2 separate regions of the Homo sapiens genome follow, and region 1 is linked to region 2. The links are contacts of gene promoters, found by promoter capture Hi-C in blood cells and fetal thymus (Javierre and others, 2016). All regions are on one chromosome and are shown on one strand. The core of a region is centred on a gene start or on the middle of the fragment in contact, and the rest is flanking DNA. Distances in the headings are between cores, read along the strand shown. Region 1 holds the start of NHSL3 (NHS like 3). Region 2 holds the start of BSDC1 (BSD domain containing 1).

The links. The method cuts DNA at HindIII sites, captures the fragments that hold promoters and counts their contacts. A CHiCAGO score of 5 or more calls a contact.
Region 1: a contact is called between the fragment with the promoter of NHSL3 here and a fragment that was not itself captured in region 2, in 1 of 17 cell types (M0 macrophages). The highest score is 5.7, in M0 macrophages.

Annotation. Positions count from the first base shown.
Region 1 is chr1:32,738,411-32,745,821 of GRCh38, forward strand. It overlaps NHSL3 (NHS like 3), which reads left to right and starts at 3,420. Exons shown (of 7, transcript NM_020888.3): 1 at 3,420-3,779. The coding sequence starts at 3,545. The HindIII fragment of the contact is 20,286 bases long and covers 1-7,411 here.
Region 2 is chr1:32,388,906-32,395,756 of GRCh38, forward strand. BSDC1 (BSD domain containing 1) reads right to left here and starts at 5,536. Exons shown (of 11, transcript NM_018045.8): 1 at 5,499-5,536; 2 at 5,175-5,235. The coding sequence starts at 5,509. RefSeq lists enhancers at 4,577-5,274, 5,262-5,551, 5,275-5,970, 5,842-5,921, 6,669-6,851. The HindIII fragment of the contact is 1,550 bases long and covers 4,212-5,761 here.

The DNA.
Region 1 (7,411 bases), core at 2,170-4,669, 350 kb after region 2:
ATCCGCCTGCCTCAGCCTCCCAAAGTGCGGGGATTACAGGTGTGAGCCACTGCACCTGGCCTAATTTTTGTATTTTTAGTTGAGACGGGGTTTTACCATGTTGGCCAGGGTGGTCTCGATCTCCTGACCTCATGATCCGCCCTCTTTGGCCTCCCAAAGTACTGGAATTACAGACGTGAGCCACCGTGCCCGGCATTTTTATTTTTGAGACGGAGTTTTGTTCTTATTTTCCAGCCTGGAGTGCAGTGGCACCATCTCGGCTCACTATAACCTCTGCCTTCTGGGTTCAAGCGTTTCTCCTGCCTCAGCCTCCCGAGCAGCTGGGACCACAGACAAGCACCACCATGCCTTGCTAGTTTTTTTGTATTTTTATTTATTTTATTGAGACGGAGTTTTACTCGTCGCCCAGGCTGGAGTGCAATGGCATGATCTCGGCTCACTGCAACCTCCACCTCCCGGGTTCAAGTGATTCTCCTGCCGCAGCTTCCTGAGTAGCTGGGATTATAGGCGCCTGCCAGCAAGCCTGGCTAATTTTTTTTTTTTTTTTTTTTGAGATGGAGTCTCACACTGTCACCGGGGCTGGAGTGCAATGGCGTGATCTTGGCTCACTGCAAACTCCGCCTCCTGGGTTCAAGTGATTCTCCTGCCTCAGCCTCTCGAGTATCTGGGATTACAGGCGCTTGCCACCTTGCCTGGCTAATTTTTGTATTTTTAGTAGAGACGGGGTTTCACTATGTTGGCCAGGCTGGTCTCAAACTCCTGACCTTGTGATCCACCTGCCTCGGCTTCCCAAAGTGCCAGGACTACAGGCGTGAGTCACCTTGCCCGGCCTGCTATTGCCTCTTGAAATTCTTTTTTTAAAAGACAAAGTCAGGCCAGGCACAGTGGCTCACGCCTGTAATCCCAGCACTTTGGGAGGCCGAGGCGCGTGGGTCACCTGAGGTCAGGAGTTCGAGACCAGCCTGACCAATATGGCGAAACCCCGTCTCTACTAAAAATACAAAAATTAGCCAGGCGTGGTGGCGGGCGCCTGTAGTCCCAGCTACTCAGGAGGCTGAGGCAGGAGAATCGCTTGAACCCGGGAGGTGGAGGTTACAGTGAACCGAGATTGTGCCACTGCACTCCAGCCTGGGCGACAGAGCAAGACTCAGTCTCAAACAAACAAACAAACAAACAACAACAACAACAAAAAGACAAGATTTCACTCTGTTTCGCAGGCTGCAGTTCAGTGGCGCGAACATGGCTCACTATAGCCTTGACCTCCTGGGCTCAAGGGATCCTCCCACCTCAGCCTCCCGAGTGAGTAGCTAGGACCACAGGCACTTGTCACCACACCTGGCTAATGAAAAACAATTTTTTTTTTGGAGAGATGAGCTCTTACCATGTTGCCCAAGGCTGGTCTCGAACTCCTAGGCTCAAGCAATCCTCCCACCTTGGCCTTCCAAAGTGTTGGGATTACAGACATGAGCCACTGTGGCAGGCCTTGAAATTCTTAATAAGTTTTTTTTTTTTTTTTTTTTTTTTTTTTTTGAGACAGAGTCTCGCTCTGTCACCCAGGCTGGAGTGCAATGGTGCAATTTTGGCTCACTGCAACCTCCGCCTACCGGGTTCAAGCAATTCGCCTGCCTTAGTCTCCCAAGTAGCTGGGACTACAGGCATGCACCACCACACCCAGCTAAGTTTTTGTATTTAGTAGAGACCGGGTTTCACCATGTTGGTCTGGCTGGTCTTAAACTCCTGACCTCAGGTGATCCATTTGCCTGGGCCTCCCAAAGTGCTGGGAATACAGGCCTGAGCCACCATGCCTGGCACCTGTAACACTTTTCTCTTGAAAACTGCATTCTCTACATTCCCTTTCCTCACCAACTAACAGAGGAAGAGGCTGGGTTCTTAGGAGTGCTAGGCTGGGCCAAGAGCACCCAGAGTACAGGGCTGGTTCCTGATCCAGAATGGGTGCTCTGGGATTGTGGGCTGGATCTGAATGAATGGTGGTTAGACAAGAAACTGAGGCCCAGCATGGACACTGGGTGGTCTGCCCCAGGGCCCCCAGGTGGGAGAGTGTCAATGATGTCCCAGGTTCACCACAGCTGAGCCCCTGGGGACATGCAGGGGGCTAAGGCAGGTTAGGGAGATCCCACTGCACTCTAGTAATCCTGCAATGTTATGGTGAGTGCTATCTACAGTGCGCCGGGGCTGACTGGGCTGGGTGGCCCAGACAAATGGGCCCCTGCCCTCGTGGAGACCAGGACCAAGAGAAAGCCGTGTGACCAGAGTCAGATTGGGTGATTCTGGCCACCCCACTGGTATGGACATCACAAGGCCCTTCTGGGGACTGACGGAGGAGGTTCAAGGGTGCTGAACCCACAGCTGGTCCCCAGCGCAATTTCTAGTCCTTAGGGTTTGAAGCCTTGGACCAGCCTGAGACAAAACCCAGATGACCATCTTGGCTCCTCTCCCGCTGACCACCTCTGTCCCCTTCTGGCCTCCATTTCCGTTGTCGTGGGATCAGATGATATAAAAGGGCTTGGTCAGCTGTAATAGACCCAGAGGCCTGTAGGCAATGAGTACAGCAATTTCAGGATTCTTAATGTTTCCTTTCCTACCAGCCTCCCAGTCACACCTCTCACCTGCCCAGAGTTCAACCCTAATTAGTGTTGAGCATCTCAGTGGGAACTCCTGGTCCAGGCAGGAGTGCCCTGGGGCCTCAAATCCTAGTCCAAGGGTAAACGGAGGAAGGGCTATCCTCATCTTGCCACCAAAGGGTGAGGCAGGAACACAGTGGACCTGGGCCCCCGCTGCACACCGAAGATGGTTGGAGCCTGGAAGGTGTGGTAAAGAGCGAGGAGGCGACCCCAGTCAGCAGATGGGAGGGAAATGCCCACTGCGGGTCACAGGTCTTGGACGTGTCTGAAGCCTCTATTCCTGGCGCAAGCGCCCCAACACTGTCGGGGCTTGGAAGGAATTCTCCAAATTCCCTTATTCCAGGAAAAAATATTCCAGAATCCCCTGTCTATTCCCAGCCCAAACTTGGGATACCAAGTCTCCTGGGGTCCAACCCCAGCCTCTCGCTCCTCCTTTCCTGCGCCCTTCCCCTTTCCGTCCCCACCCCATACCACCCTCTTCCGAACAGATCTCCCGCGGTGCCCCCTGCGGGACGGAACCTCAGTGCCGCCCCCTCCCGGGCGGCCCCACGACCCGCCCTCTCGGGCCCCAGCGGGGGGCACGACCCCGGGCTCCCGGGACCCCCTCCTCTCGGGACTGGACCTCGCCCTCCGCCGGGACCGGGGGAGGCGGGGAGGGGCCGCAGGCAGCGGCGCTCCCGCCCTGCGGCCGCTCCCGCCCCGCTCCTTCCCTCCCCGCCGGCCTGCGCCCCGCCCGCCGCTCGGCCGGCCCCTCCCGCGCCGCTCCCGCCGTCCGCTCTCCGCGCCCGCTCGGCCTCCGCCGCCCAAACTTTTCTCCGGGCGCGCGTCCCCGGCGGCCGCCCCCGGCATGGGCACCGCGCCGCAGGGGGCCTGACCCGCCGCCCGCTCCGCCCCCGCCTGCCATGGCGGCCCGCGCGCCCCCCGCCGCACCTGCGGCCGAGGAGCCGGGGAACCCGGGCGGCCCCCCGCGCAGGAAGAAGTCCCGCTCCGGCGCGTCCGGCCTCCGCCGCGCCTTCAGCTGGCTGCGGGGCAAGCGGCGCAAGAAGAAGGCGGCGGGGGCCGAGGGCGCCGAACCGGCCGCCCCCCGGGCCAAGAAGGCGGAGGACAAGGCCAAGAGGGCCAAGGGCAAAGGCCGAGGTAAGGCGGTCGGCACCTGGGCTGAGCGCGGGGGGGCGTCGAGGGTGCGGCCGAGGGGGCTCTGCCGGGGGTCCGCGCGCGGCGTGTTGGAGGGGGGTGACCCCCAGGAGCTGGTGCTGGAAAGCGAAGAGGCCAGGGCTGAGTCCGAACACTTCCACCCTGCGCTGCCTTCCGCAGTTTCCAGACCCAGTCCTGCCCCGCTGTGAGGGGAGGGGACCCCCGGCTGGGGCAGGGATCCCCTGGCAGAGCAGGAAGTGCTGGTAGCCCGACTCCAGGGCGGTGAGGCGATTCCCCCTCCCCCAGGCTCACCGAGGTTCTGCCCTCTGCTGAGTCAGGGGGTCAGAGACTTAACGCTGGCCTGTGGCCAATGGGAGAGACAGGTGGCCTTGGGTCTCTGGTGGGGACCCTCTGGGTCTGGAAGGTCAACCGCACTCACAAAGAGTTTCAGCTCCAGCTGGATCTGGATTTCCAGCCCCACAAAGGACCTCACATGGAGCACAGTGTGCCCTGCCTTAGCTTCTTAACAGTGCTGGCTTTTCCCACCTGGCCTCCCTCAACGCTCACCTGGGCCAGGCCACAAACATCACCTCCTGGGGTAGTGAGCTCACCAAGGTGAACCAACCCGCCCCTCCCTATCACTCCTTCTTCCAGCCCTGGAGAAACATGCCAGTGTCGGAAGTGTGCTTACAGATGGGGGAAACTGAGGCCCAAGCTCAGTGGAGAGGCTGTACCTGGGCTGGGGTGGGTACTTAAAATTCAACAGCTAATTCTCAGTCTTTCTGAATTTGAGTCCCTGGGCTCCTCCTCTGGCCTGGACGGGCAGCCTGAAAGGCGGGGAAGCCGACCTGGCCCATCCCTGCTGGGGTCATTTTCAGTTCCTTTCTTGGGCCTTCCCTCATTTTCCAGTTTCTGTCTTCCTTTTGATGGGGAGGGCTTGAGTCTTTGCAAGAGGGTGGAGCTCCCTTGGGGCTTGCTGTCCTGGGAAGTCCACCTTTCCTAGACTGCTGCTGCAGTGCTGGAGGTGAGGAAATGGCTGGGTGTGCGGGCCCATCCCATTCTGCCTGTGTTTACCCTCCCAGTGTCCTTTAACCACCTCTTCTGGGAGAGTTAGAAGGAACACTTTAGGGGTCAGGAAGAGGGTGGAAAGCCTCATGTGTGATTGTATCCGGCTTGATCTTCCTTTTGGATAAGGGCCCTGCTTCCCTGCGGCACAGCCACACATAGAAGTGAGGGTGCTGGGGCTGGGGTGACTGGGCCAAACCCTGAGGGAGGACTGGATTTGGGTGAGGGGTGTTTCCAAAGCCTCTGCAGTCCTAACAGGACATGGAGTCTGTCCCAGGGCTGCCCCACTGGGATTCAGTCTGAAGTCATCCCCGTCTCATTCAAGAGGGCATTGCAGCAGGATGTATTGTGGTCAGACTGTCAGGATTGGCAGGCAGAAGGCTAGTGGACTAGCAGTGTATACTCCAGGGCAATGGACCTTTTTCCTCTGGGAGACCAGCCTGGAAGGCAGGGGGCTGGAAAAGCTGAGCCTGTAGGTCACTGCTCCAACAGCCTGGGTTTGGGTTCATTGGGTCAGTGGCCAGGCCTCCCTCTTGCCTTGTGTTTGGTATCAGGTGGCTCTGGGCTTTCTGGGCAGCATGTCGGCCTGATTTGAGCCCACGTGCATGGGTAACACCTCCTTGCCCCTGGCTGTTGTTTCTCCAGGTCTGGAGGTGGCCCTGGGTATGACTGGAGGAAGTCCTGTTCCCTTTTACTCCAGCCTCCTATTATTGCAACTGTTTCCTTGTCACCTGCCTGGCCCAACTTCTTTTCTGTTTATTAAGAGAAATAAATCTGATCCCACTAATCTCCACTGGCAACGCTGGCCAGGAACGGGAAGCCTGCAGAAGGCTTAACTCTTTCAGGGAGAATGTTCAGAATGGAGATTGGGAGAGGTGGGGAGGAGGGATACACAGGAGATTCCTGGGAGGTCAGGGATCTTTGCTGGGGAAGTCATTATCTCCTCCATTCCAATCTCTGGCTCAAAGACCTATGAGAGGCAGGTCTTGATTCCTCTAATCTGACTCTCCTACTTTAAGATGGAAAAACTGAGCTTGTCATGGAGTTTTGAGCACCAGTCTTCCATGATTCCCTTGCTGACCTCACTACCCTGCACAAACTTAGAAGAAGAGAGGAAGTCTGACATTTATTGATTAGTCTGAATATGTCAAGATCTTACTTGCAGATGAAAAAATTGAGGCTCAGGGACAGTGAGTGACTGATTTGACCAAACGGATTTAAACTCAAATCACCTGCCTCAAAAATCGGGACTGTTTTCATGACTCTCCCAAGGACATAGAGCAGCAGGTAAGGCTTGAAGATCTTCTTGTTCAACTCACTTTACAGATGGGAAATGGCCCAGAGAGAGAAGTGAGGGAACTTGATAGAGTGGGGAGAGTATCAGAATCAGGCCAATGAGAGTTTAAATCCTGGCCCAGCTACTAGCAAGCCCCATGATGTAGGATGAGCAACTTCTCAGTGGGCTCCCTGATTCCACCACTGTCTTGTGGGGAAGAAAGGGGGAATCCTCTGGCTGGACATTGCCTTGATGGGCTGTGACCTTTCTGTCTCACCAAGATTCTCACAAGAGAGCATATGAAAATTATATTAAAGGCTGGGCGTGGTGGCTCATGCCTGTAATCCTAGTATTTTGGGAGACCGAGGCGGGCAGATTGCCTGAGCTCAGGAGTTCGAGACCAGCCTGGGCAACACGGTGAAACCCCGTCTCTACTAAAATACAAAAAATTTGCCAGACAAGGTGGCGTGCACCTGTAGTCCCAGCTACCCGGAAGGCTGAGGCAAGAGAATTGCTTGAACTCGGGAGGCGGAGGTTGCAGTTAGCCAAGATTGCACCGCTGCACTCCAGCCTGGGCAACAGAGCGAGACTCAGAAAAAAAAAAAAGAAAAAAAAAAGAAAATTATATTAAAGAGAAGTAACCATAGAAATGCAAGGGGTTGCTATGCCTGTGTTTATAAGTTTAGTCACCTGAGCTCTAACGACCCAGTCTGGAAGGAATGGGCTCTGGGCCTAAGAACAACTTTGCTTGACTGGGCGTGGTGGCTCACACCTGTAATCCCAGCACTTTGGGAGTTTGAGGTGGGTGGGTCATGAGGTCGCGAGTTTAAGACCAGCCTGACCAACATGGTGAAACCCTGTCTCTACTAAAAATACAAAAATTAGCTGGGCGTGGTGGCGCGTGCCTGTAATCCCAGCTACTCAGGAGGCTGAGGCAGGAGAATCGCTTGAACCCGGGAGGTGGAGGTTGCAGTGAGGCGAGATTGCACCACTGTACTCCAGCCTGGGCGACAGAGCGAGACTAGGTCTCAAAAAAAAAAAAAAAAAAAAATGGACAACTCTGCTTCCCTGGTCTGCCCCTCTCAAGCTACAAGATGCTGGCAGGTTATTCACCCCTCCAAGCCTCAGTATCCTTATCTGTAAAATAGGGATAATAAATCCTAGCTTTATAGGGGCCTTTCCAGGATCAAATGAGCTAACAGACATGCAAGTGCGTTGTGAACTGTGGAGCATGGTGCAGCTGGCAGCAGGTTTCTGCTGTTGTTATGCTGCTGAGGACTTGAGCATTAGTTAA
Region 2 (6,851 bases), core at 3,737-6,236:
CCTCTTCAGGCTCAGCTGGCTCTCCCTGCTTTATCTCTTCTTCTTTTTTTTCTTTTTTTTTTTTTTTGAGATGGAGTTTCGCTCTGTTACCCAGGCTGGAGTGCAGTGGCGCGATCTCTGCTCACTGCAACCTCTGCCTCCCGGGTTCATGCCATTCTCCTGCCTCAGCCTCCCGAGTAGCTGGGACTACAGGCGCCCGCCACCAAGCCCAGCTAATTTTTTGTATTTTTAGTAGAGACGGGATTTCACTGTGTTAGCCAGGATGGTCTCGATCTCCTGACCTCATGATTCGCCCACCTTGGCCTCCCAATTTATCTCTTTTCTAACACTGAACATAGTTTAGACTTCAGATGACCTGTTCAATGTCTGTCTTCCTGGATAAACTGTGAGTTGTGTGAACACAGGTCCTATGTGTTTTGTTCCCTGATGGTTCCCCAGTATCTGACACAGAGCATACAGTAGGTACTCAAAAAATGTTTGCTTGTTAAATTTACATGGACCATTGAAATTTCAATTATGTAACCACTTGTGTGACTAAACAGTTGTCTTCCCGCTAGACTGTGAGCTCTGAGCAGACAAACATGAACATACGTTGCCCTCAAGCAGGTCACAGTCTACTGGGGAAAATGGTCCCATGATAGTGCTGATGTGCAAGGGCAGAGCAGTAGCTGCTGTACTATGGGGAGGTTGGGAAGATGTGGTGACCAGAAGCCTGGAATGGGCCCTTAAAGAATGAACAGGAGTTGGTTAAGAAGTATTGATGTGGGCCAGGTGCAGTGGCTGATGCCTGTAATCCCAGCACTTTGGGAAGCCGAGGCAGGAGGATTGCTTGAGCCCAGGAATTTGAGACCAGTTTGGACACTATGGCAAAACCGTCTCCACACACACACACACACACACACACACAAATACAAAAAATTAGCCAGAAGTGGTGGTACACGCCTATAGTCCCAGCTACCCAGGAGGCTGAGGTGGGAGAATCACCTGAGCCTGGGTGGTTGAGGCTGCAGTGGGCTGTGATCATGCCACTGCACTCCAGTCTGGGTAACAGAGTGAGACCCTGTCTCAAAAAAAAAAAAAAAAAAGAACAGGAGTCAGCTAAGAAGTGTTGACATGGGTTTAGTGACGTCTACAAGCATTACAGTCCTGATGGACATAAAATGTGAAGCAAGAGTGGTGAGGGATAAAGCTGGAGAGGTTGCCAAGGGCAACCAGGGAGAGCCTGGTCAGCCCTATGGATGATGGGGAGCCACCAAAGGTTTGAAGTGGGTGGGACATGAGATTTGCCTTTTCACTAAATTACTCCAGTGACTGGAATGGAGGAAAGGTCCAGAGGCGAGAAGATTAGAAGAGGAAGAAGGAAGACCAGTCAGGAGGCTGCTGCAATAATCCAGGAAAGAAAATAGAAAAATGTGAGTAAGGACAATGCTAGTAAAGATGGAGAGGATGAGACTGGTTCAAGATACAGGAGATGGAAGAAGGTGGATTTGGTGACTGAACAGGTATGTTGACTGAGGGCTAGAAAAGAATCATGGAAGCACCACAGGCTGCTAAAATAGGTGACTGCGTAGATGCAGTACTGCCAGCTAAGTGAGAAAATCCTGGAGGAGGAGCAGTCCTAGAGACAAGGTGGTAACAATGACTTTGGGCACGCAGAACTTGAGATGACTGTGGGCTGTCTAGGATAGCTGTCCAGCAATAGCTATCCTCAAACACTAAAGCTGGCCGGGCATGGTGGCTCATGCCTGTAGTCCCAGCACTTTGGGAGACCAAGGTGGGCAGACTGCTTGAGCCTAGGGGTTTGAGACCAGCCTGGGCAACATGGCGAGATCTCATCTCTACAAAAAATACAAAAATTAGTTGGGCGTGATGGTACACGCCTATAGTCCCAGCTACTTGGGGGCCTGAGGTGGGAGGATTGCTTGAATCCAGGAAGTGGAGGTTGCAGAGAACCATGTTTGCATCACTGCACTTCAGCTTGGGTGACAAAGTGAGAGCCCATCTCAAAACAAAGCAAAACACAACACTAAAGTTCAGGCAAAAGGTCTAAGAGTCGCCCTAACAGGAAAGTGGAGAAGGTGACCCAGGAAGAGTTTGGAAAGTGGACAGAGCAATGGGCTGAGGACAAGTGTCCTCAGACACTACCTGTAGGGGGCAAGCAGAGGAAGAGGAACTCATGAGACAGTTACAAAAGCAACGTCTGGAGAAGTATGTGGAGACTTAAGAATCATGTCACAAATGCCAAGAGAGTAGCGTTTCAAGAGAGGGAGTGATCACTAGCGTCAAATGCAGCAGAATGGTCCAGGAAGATAAGGGCTGAAAACCACCCACTGGATTTGGCAAGCAGTAGGTAAAGCTGACTGAGTAAAGATAAGTTTATAGGTGGTGGCTTTGAGGGTGGGGAGAGAGTTAAAGATCCTGTTTGTTCACCTGAAGTTTCAAAAAGTAGATGAGGTTGTCTCCTGGAAGTGAAAGGGATAAAGCGGCTGAATAGGGGACCCCAGGGAAGAGTTAGGTTTTGGGAAAGTTTCTGAAGTTAAGGGGAGGAGAAGCAAATTGGAGACTGAAGAGTATGTGGGCCCAGATGAGGTTGGGGAATCTGTGATGGAACCAAAAAGCATTTGGTGCCTTTCTCTTTTTAATTTCTTCTTTCTGGTAAGTATGTAGAGCAATGATATGCCTTTCTCTATCAACGTGTATGCACACGTATTTGTGTCAGTCATATTGCCCTTGACAACACACAGGAAGACAGGACAGGAGGAGGTAAGGAGCAGAGGAAAGCAGATGATAGCACCATCTCATAGCTGTGGTCTTCAGGGCAATGTGTTCTAAGGAGTGCTGAGAAGTGAGTGGTCCAGATGGAGCCAGAATGGGACATACAGATAGGAAAGCACCAAAAGACCAAGAAAAAAAATGGAAGGAAAAACGAACTGGGGGTGGTATCTAAGAGGTTTTCCCATCAGCCTCAGCACTTAATAACAGCTAATGCTTATATAGCACTTACTGTATGCTAGGTACTGTTCTTAGTGTTTTACATATATTAACATTTAACCATCACCACAATCTCATCAAGTAGGTATTGTTAGTATTCCCATTTTATAGATGAGGAACTGAGGCCTAGAGAGGTTAAAAACTTGCCCAAGAGGCCAGGCGTGGTGGCTCACACCTGTAATCCTAGCACTTTGGGAGGCCGAGGCAGGCGGATCACCTGAGGTCAGGAGTTTGAGACCAGCCTGGCCAACATGGTGAAACCCTGTCTCTATTGAAAATAGAAAAATTAGCTGGGCGTGGTGGCACATGCCTGTAATCCCAGCTACTCAGGAGGCCGAGGCAGGAGAATCACTTGAACTCAGGAGGCGGAAGTTGCAGAGCTGAGACTGAGCCACTGCACTCCAGCCTGGTAACAGAGCCAGACTTGGTCTCAAAAACAAACAAACAAAAAACAAAAAACACTTGCCCAAGTACATATAAGAGTAAGAAAGTAAAAAAAGGGAAATTACGTCTTTTCTTTCCAAAAAGGCATAAACAACTCCCACCTCCACCCCCACCCCAGCTTTTAACTGGGAATTCCAAGAATGAAGACGGAAGGTTGGCCAACTATCTATTTTTCATAAGTTATGATAAGACCAACCTTGAGACAAACACAGGAGGCCCTCATGCAACATCTGCTGAATGAATGTCAGACTTTCCTGCCAGGAAATTACCCAACAGGAAATATGCTACTATCGGGTCTCTTCTATCAAATGTTAGGGTGCAAGCCTCTCAGTCCTCATCAACAACATAAACAGCTCAGGGCATTCTCAGATTTGCTGGGCTATTGCTGAGAGGCTGTCCAGGAGTACCCAGGATAAGGGAGGAATAAAAACGCTCCCAGATGTCTGGGTGTGGTGGCTCACGCCTATAATCCCAGCACTTTGGGAAGCTGAGGCAGGTGGCTCACCTGAGGTGAGGAGTTCGAGACCAGTCTGGCCAACATGGTGAAACCCTGTCTCTACTAAAAATACAAAAATTAGCCAGGAGTAGTGGCACATGCCTGTAATCCCAGCTACTCGGGAGGCTGAGGCACAAGAATCACTTCAATCTGGGAGGCAGAGGTTGCAGCGAGCTGAGACCGCACCTGTGCACTCCAGCCTAGGTGACAGAGTGAGACTCTGTCTCAAAACAAAACAAAAATACTCCCAGAGTAGAGGACTTATTTAGGTGAGGTCAGAAGCTTCCTGGAGTTGGCCCTGAAGCAGGACTCATCCCAATTGCTTGAGGTAAATAGTAATCAACTTTTCCCACAATTCAGTTGGGCTGATTTTGACAAATAAGCATGAAATGAAACAGGAATACACATTGGCAAATTACCCACTGGCACAGCCAAATATCACTCATCCCACAGAGATTGTTCAGCAAGAAGGCCTTCCACTCTCTGGTGATTAATCTCTCTCTCTCTACTGCCCGTTGCATAGCCCCTACTTAGAACTCATCAGGCACCAGTGTGTATGGCTCATGCTCATCTCTGGCTTGGGTTCTTGCTTTTCATCCTGTCTAGGCAGGGTTGCCCTTGATGAGGTTCCTTCTCCACAGGGGCCTTCCCTGGTGAGTTACTGACTAACCAGAACAGACAAGGTGCCCCTGTACTTTCCTTTCACAGAACTTACCACAACGGTAACTAAACAACTATTTGTTTGGCTACTCGGTTAATGGCTGTCTCTCCACTAGACTGTGAGCTTTGTAAGGCCCAGGATTACATCTGTTTGGCTGAAGTCTGTATCCTCAAGACCTATCAGAGTGCTGGTTGTCGCATATACTCTAATATTTGAATGACTATACGAGTAAGTTTTTTTACTGCTAGAATCTTTTCCTTCAAGACCTGTATCAAATGCTCTCTCTTTCACGAAGAAACTGAATTTCCTGAGCTGGAATAAATTGCTCCTTCCTATGGATTCCTACAAAACGTTCGTTAACTCCAGCCTTTAAAACCATCTTTATTTCACTGTGGCTAGTATCACACTGGTTTGCGTCGAGGTCTGTCTTCCCGTGGACCGGTAGAGGCTAAAAGAAAGGCCCAGGTCAGCCTCATCCTTGAGACTTAGCGCCCGCAAAAGTTGGGCGGGGCTGGTTGGACCAGGTTGCATTGAGGCGGCGCAGGGCCCTGCTGAGGGAAGAAGGGCACGGGCCCGGCTTACCTTCTCTTTGACTGCTTGGTAGCTCTGCTGCAGCCAGCTCCGCCACCATCCCACGTCCTCCCTGTGGAAGACAGACACATCTGGCAGCACCGCGGTGCGATTCCTGCCCGCCCAAGGATCCGGTTTGTTCCCCGCTCAGATGTACCCTGCGGGCCGAGGCTTCGCAGACCGCTTGCCCACCCCCTCACAATGCGACTCCACTCTGCCCTTTCAGATCAGTCCACGCCCCCGCTGATCTCACGTTCCCCACCGGGACTCTCGCCCAGCACCCCAACCCTGGGAGAATTCAGGCCCCAACGCCTAGGAGCAAAACGACAAGCTCACCCTTCCGCCATCTTGCCTGCATGACATCACCACTATTTACTGACCTTTGACTTCCGACACGGCACCGCCCCCTCAAGGACCGCCCCCGAGGCGCTCGGCCCAATCCTCGCGCCGGCACCGCCCTCAGCCCAATCCCCTCCCTGCGCCATCATTAGGTCCCGCCTCCCTGAACTCTATCCAGTCTCTGTCCCGAGTTCGCCCTCAAACTCCGCCCCTGAACTCTCAGTTCAATCGTCATTCAGTCCTGTCCTCAGGCTCCACCAAGCTTGACTCTTTGTCACTGTCCGCAAACGTCGGGTACGGTGGCCTCTATGGACGATGATCAGCCGACAAGCTGGACTGCGGAGAGCTGGGAGCAGAGGGGAGGAGGAGAGATAGCTCGAACGTCAGGATCCCAGAGCGCAGGGTTAGGACCGCCCCCCTTTGTGAAACCAGCTGCGTAGAGGCTGCTTTGTGTCTCTTTGGGCTAATTCAATAAGCCCATATTGCGGGGCTGTGGCCCAGAGTTTGGAGGAATGTGAATAATTCAGAGGCGACTTAGATGCAGCCTTTGGAGGGCTTACGGGTTAATGGGAGACACACACATTCAGTAATCTCAACTTTCGGTGGCCCAGCTCAGAACAACGCCAGGTGGAGGTGGTCTGGAGAAATCCGGAGACCGCCTGGATTGAGTTCTACTGCGATTGGAAGGGAGATTCCACAGCCCACATACTTTGGACTTTAATTAAGGTCAGCCCCTCCACGTGTGCGGTAGATCCCATCGCCTCTTGTTTGCTTAAGGACATAGATCTAGTAATCCCCCCTTCATCTCTTTTCCCTCTGATGACTGCATTTATCCTTGTCATCATCCGTACTGCTGTTTCTCCCATCTCAAAGGCAAACAAAAACCAGCCCTCTCTATATCCCTCACCGTTTCCCTACTCCCCTTTACAGCAAAAGCGTTGCCTACTCACAGTCTGCAACTCCCCTCTCCTCCCATTCTCTCTTGAACTCACTGCAGTTAGGTTTTTGCCTCTCAGACAATCCTTTGAAATAACTTTCTTTTATTTATTTAATTTTATTTAATTTTATTTATTTTATATTTATTTGTAGCTCTGCTGCAGCCAGCTCCGCCACCATCCCACGTCCTCCCTGTGGAAGACGGACACATCTATTTTATTTATTTATTTATTTTTGGTCCTCCCTGTGGAAGACGGAAACATCTATTTTATTTATTTATTTATTTTGAGTCAGAGTCTTGCTCTGTTGCCCGGGCTGGAGTGTAGTGGTGCAATCTCAGCTCGCTGCAACCTCTGCCTCCCGGGTTCAAGCGATTCTCCTGCCTCAGCCTCCCGAGTATCTGGGATTACAGTT